Regions from separate parts of the Homo sapiens genome. Here region 2 is linked to region 1. The links are contacts of gene promoters, found by promoter capture Hi-C in human tissues and cell types (Jung and others, 2019). All regions are on one chromosome and are shown on one strand. Each heading gives the region's core, a stretch centred on a gene start or on the middle of the fragment in contact. The rest is flanking DNA. Distances are from core to core; before and after follow the strand shown. Region 1 holds the start of HRK (harakiri, BCL2 interacting protein). Region 2 overlaps FBXW8 (F-box and WD repeat domain containing 8).

Evidence for each region. The method cuts DNA at HindIII sites, captures the fragments that hold promoters and counts their contacts. A contact is called where the count stands out against the background at its distance.
Region 2: a contact is called between a fragment that was not itself captured here and the fragment with the promoter of HRK in region 1, in 1 of the 25 tissues and cell types used here (spleen).

The regions. Positions count from the first base shown.
Region 1 is chr12:116,880,109-116,882,845 of GRCh38, reverse strand. It overlaps HRK (harakiri, BCL2 interacting protein), which reads left to right and starts at 1,405. Exons shown (of 2, transcript NM_003806.4): 1 at 1,405-1,870. The coding sequence starts at 1,539. The coding sequence ends at 1,814. RefSeq lists an enhancer at 251-1,212 and silencers at 1,718-1,797, 2,676-2,737. The HindIII fragment of the contact is 18,466 bases long and covers 1-2,737 here.
Region 2 is chr12:116,919,975-116,922,674 of GRCh38, reverse strand. The region is part of intron 1 of FBXW8 (F-box and WD repeat domain containing 8); the gene reads right to left. Among named protein-coding and RNA genes, the nearest start is that of FBXW8, 10 kb to the right of the region's middle. The HindIII fragment of the contact is 5,174 bases long and covers 1-2,700 here.

The DNA of each region.
Region 1 (2,737 bases), core at 156-2,655:
CTACCTGTGCCTCAGCTTCCTCATCTTTGAAATATTATAGTAATTGCATGTAGAATTGTTGGGAGATTTACCTTTAGGCAGCAGAGGCAAGGGCGCCCAAAGCCCACAGGTGCCAGACATAGAAGATGCGCAGTAGGTCTTGGCCATTATGAAGCCTAGAATAATTGGAGCTGGGTGAGGGAAAAGGCCACCAGAATCACACAGTGTTGTGGGCTTTGAGCCCTGACTTTGTTGTCATTTCACCACGCTGTGGGCCAAAAGGGACATTTCTCCTCCTGATCAATTCAGACCAAAACTAAGTTCACAGACTCGAAGAATCTTGGTTATACTCTGCGGTGGGAAGGCAAGAACGGAAGCTCCCTCAGCAGGTTCCAGACTCCCAACTTGGAGCCATCTCTGGACTCATCCCGATGGTCTGAATCCCAAAGTTGTCTGAATCCCAGTCGATTTAAGATCACAGGTTTCATTCTCCCCCACAGAATCCTGACAGCCGCCCAGCCCATCTGAACCTTCACCGTTTGTGACAACTGCAGACGCTCCAGTCTGGAGGTGCACAGGAGTGGCTGTCGGATTGGAAAAGGGGGAATTAAAGTCCCCCGCGCCCCTCCTCTCGCCGACCCCTTAGGGTCTCCACTGCGCATTAAATCGGGGTCATCGCAGAAAACTGTAACGCCATCAGGAAAATAATGTTCACAAAGAAAGCAGACAAGAAGTTTCCCTTTAGAAAGCCCCTTGCGAGGGTCTTTTGGGTGCGGGTGCCGGGCAGCGAGAATGCCTCCGTCCGCGCCCCACGCGAGCTCAGGTGGGCCCATCCAGCCTCCCACCGGGCGCTGGGGGCACTTTAGGGTCAGGTTTCTAGCCAGGCGCTGGGGGCACGTTAGGGTCAGGCTGAAAGCCTACAGGTGCCAAGTCAGACCTGAAACGAGGCAAGTTGGGTGTAATCTGACCCTTCCATAAGATTTTGAATCCACCCACCTCCCCCAAACAAAACAACAGCCTCGGAATATTTTTGAATAATGCAGCCGAATTCAGCATCAGCTTCATCCAAAACGGCAAACAAGCCTTTTTCCCTCGCCAAATCGGAACTCGAGCTGAATTCAGGAAAAGGGGAAGGAGAACAACCTTCCCTCGCGCTCCGCGCCTCCGCGGGGGTCCCCCGAGACCCCCAAAGCCCAGGACCTCCGCTGCGGGGAGCCTTCTCGCGCCGCCCCGCGCCGCGCTCCCCGTCTCCCAAACCTCGCGCTCCCTAGCTGCCGGCGCCGCTAGGGTTAAAAGTTACCTCTCGGTTTCTTCTGCCTGCAGCCCCCCCCCCAACCCCCGGGGGCCGGATGATGTAACCCCCCTCCCCGCCCCCCTCCACCATGTGACACTTTAATTAATAATAGCGCCGTCAGCACAACAAACGCACAACACAAGGAGAAACTTGGTGTCCAGGGGAGGCCCCCGGCGGCTGGAGCGCGGCGGCAGCGGGCGCAGAGGCCGGAGGGAGAGGAGGCGAGGGGCGGCCCGAGCGCGGGGCGGGAGCGAGGCCAGCGGTCATGTGCCCGTGCCCCCTGCACCGCGGCCGCGGCCCCCCGGCCGTGTGCGCCTGCAGCGCGGGTCGCCTGGGGCTGCGCTCGTCCGCCGCGCAGCTCACCGCCGCCCGGCTCAAGGCGCTAGGCGACGAGCTGCACCAGCGCACCATGTGGCGGCGCCGCGCGCGGAGCCGGAGGGCGCCGGCGCCCGGCGCGCTCCCCACCTACTGGCCTTGGCTGTGCGCGGCCGCGCAGGTGGCGGCGCTGGCGGCCTGGCTGCTCGGCAGGCGGAACTTGTAGGAACGCGGGGCTTCTTGGTGGGGCCGGAGCCGAGACCCAGCCGGAGCGAGCAACAGGTACGCGAGCGAGCGAGCGAGAGCCGGGGCGCGGCAGCTGGGCACTGGAGACGCTGGGCTGGCCCGGGAGCGGGAGAGTGGCAAGTTTGGCTTTCTTCTTTTCCCTTCTCCTTCTTCCTCCGTTCTCTTCTCTTGCAAGCATCTCCACCTCTCCTCTTCTACCCAGTCCCCAGTCTTCCCTTCCAAGTGTAAGGTCCACCGTTTCTGCCCCCATCTCTGCGAGTCCTTAAGCGCATCTTGCTACTCACTTATAGCTCAGTGGCTTGCGGAGGACTTCAGCCTCCATAATCCCCACCAGCCCCACAAATAAACACACAATGCAAGTAAAAAGTGTGCTTGCTATGGGAATGTAGTTGTAAGCCACGCCAAATACTTAAAATCTATCGCACTTCCAAGAAAGGTCCCCGGTCCCGTTCCAATCCTCTTGCCGTTCCTGAGTCGCCCCCGTCTCCATCACCTTTGCTCCCAACCTCTTGTCCCTAAGTGTCACTTCTCCAATCTCTGATCCCCATTATCTGGCACCCCAAGCGCATCTCGAGACTTCCTCCCCCTCCAGGTTTCTGGCTGGCCCAATCTTTCTTCCCAAGCTCCGCGCATTTGCAATTTTCCTCTGCCCTGCCAACTTCGCTCCTTCTCGAGTGAGGTGTCCTGTTTAAGGAGTTTGGCTTCCTTCTCCCCAGACGGTTGTAGCTGCTACGGGAAGGAGACGCCCTCGGAGTGGGCTGGAATAGGGGGCTTTCAGGGAAACTCCAATGGGAAGCCTTAAGGAAGGAACATTTATTGAGCTCCTTCGGGGTGCTGGGCACTGTTTAGGGAGGTCATGTGTTGAGAACTTAGGACAGGAAGTGGGTACTGAGCACCTAGTGT
Region 2 (2,700 bases), core at 27-2,526, 40 kb before region 1:
ATTTGTATTCCTATGTGCTAATGTAAGACTAATTCTGTAAATGGATTGGTTTTGTGCCTTACTGTTAGAAATTTAATCTGTCTTCTCTTGTTTAATAGAAGAACAGATAATTACTAAGAGCCAAAGCAGTAAAAAGTGAAGAAACTGACTTAAGGTTTTTGTTCCCAATGTACATCTCCAGGGCAAAGAGGACATGAAAGATCTCTCTGGGTGGTGGTTTAAGAAACTGAGAAAAGCACCTTGAGTTCAAAGAAGAGATTTGCAATAACATTTTTACTAAATCTATGACTGAAACTAGTTTCTTTAGGCGTTTATCTCAACTTTCCATGTACTGCAAAAGCTGAGTGGAGTAGACCCACACAATCTCAATCAGAAGAAATAGATGAGTTTCAGTTTCACCTGTGTCTTCTTTGAGAAGAAAAAAACTGGTTGGCTGGGGGAAAAAGGTCTGAAAGGCAGTCGAGATAAATAAGCATCCATTTATAATCCACAATTTGTCTCGAAATATATATTCTTATATACAAAAAGAAAAAAAGTCAGAAATAGGCCAGGCACAGTGGCTCATATCTGTAATCCCAACACTTTGGGTGATTGAGATAGACAGATCATTAGGGGCCAGGAGTTCAAGACCAGCCCAGGTAACATAGTGAGACACTGTCTCTAGACAAAATAAAAATAAATGAGCCAGGTGTGGTGGCATGCACCTGTAGTTCCAGCTACTTAGGAGGCTGAGGTGGGAGGATAGCTTGAGTATGGGAGGTCAAGGCTACAGAGCCATGATCACACCACTGCACTCCAGCCTAGGCAAAAGCGAGAGAGAGCCTGTCTAAAAAAAAAAAAAAAAAAAAAAAAGTCAGAAATACACCAAAATGTTAACAATGGTAGCCTCTAAGCAATTATATTACTAAAGACTTTTATTTTCTTCTATTCTTCTGAATTTCCTAAATATTTCTACAGTGAGCACATGATATTTTCACAGACACAGAAAAGCAACACATTTTTAAAGTAAGGTAACTTATGTTCAAAATACTATCTAAATTCAGGGCCACACCAGGTGCTAGGGGGAGGGAGGTGCTGTTAGCAAGTATATAAGAAATGGTCTACACTCAAAGAGCTAAAATCTTTTATAGAGGTAAGTCATTGTCACGTAAAATGAAATACAGGAGACTACAACAGGCAATATAGATCGTCCCCTAAGGTACTCCAAAGTTCATTAGTAAGCCAGCCATATAGAAGCTGGAAAACATTTCTCCAAACAAACAATGCTACAAAGAGCGGCTAAGCTCCCAAGCAGTCCACAAAAAAACAATTCGTCTCTTAACATTTAACCTAATCCCCATGCCTAGCTATGAGGAAGAGCAAAAGGTATTCAATAAATGTTTGTTGATCACATGTGCGGGTGATATAAGTGAACTATAATACTATAGAATCTAACCAGCTCAGTGCATTGCACACAGTAGATGCACAATAAATGTCCATGGAATTTGATTTATCCTTTTTTTACGAGAATAGGCTTTCCAGCTTCAAGACATATTCTCACTCTCCTGGGGACTCTGGCAAGGAAAGAAGGTAGAAGATGCCAATCTAAAGAAATGCAAGTGCTGGGGGAAATCCCAGGAGGCTGGGTGTGGTGGTGAAGGAGGGTGGTGTGAAGCAAAATGGGCTGGGCCTCTGCTTTGAGCCCCCTTTTAGTCTAAACTGGGATCTGAGCTTTAGGACATGGCGAGGAGAGAAGACAGGAAGAGGAGAAGCTTCAGGTCCCAGAGGGGTACCACAGTGGGTGTGGTTTTTGAAACCACAGTGGGTTTGTGAAAAGAGTAAAGATGTTCACATTAAGGGTCCCAAACACTGCAGGCACATTCCCACCATCAGGATTGGCTATAGAATTTGGGGGGCCTGTTGGTCACAAATGATTAAGATCATTACAAATGATCAAGGCAACAGAGCATTAAACTAAGTGCGGGTCCTGGTCACCACAGAACCTTTGCACTTGCCCGTCTTGGCCTAGAATCCCCTCCCCCAGATCTCTGTATGTTCACTCCTCACCTCCTTTAGGTTCTCCATGAAATGTGACCTTCCCAGAAAGACCCTGTTGGACAGCACTATTTAAAATTACAGCCCCTCCCCTGGCAGATACACTCTATCCTGTCTGCTTATTTCTTCTCCAGAACATTTATTTATTACCTGACAATTATTTGTCCATTGTCTAACTCCCTCTTCCCCAGAATGTAAGTTACACAAGGGCACAGGCTTTTTTCTGCCTTGTTCAATGCTATATTCTCAGTGCCTGGAACAGTGGCTGGTACCAAGAAGACACTTAATAAATATTTGTGGGATATGAATGAAACCCAAGCTGCTTCAAGCAGCAGACCGTTCCAACAAAGACCGCATGTAAGTCACAAGTTGTTCTAGTATACACAGGCATCATTTCAAAAGGTTCGTAAGTGGAGGCCTGCTAATTCACGAATAACATGAAAAAATGAACAGCACTGAGGATAAGAACTTTTTAGTTGGGGGAAAGGGAGAAATTTGGGCTGGAGAAATCACGGAAGAATTAACACAGGAGACAGAACTCAAGCTGAGCTTTAAAAGGCAGGCAAAGAACAGGAAAGAGGAAAGGAAGTTATTCCAGTTAAGTCAATTCATGAGTACACATTTGGTTTGGTTTGCTGTCTCACTGCATATTAGCCAGAAGAAAAG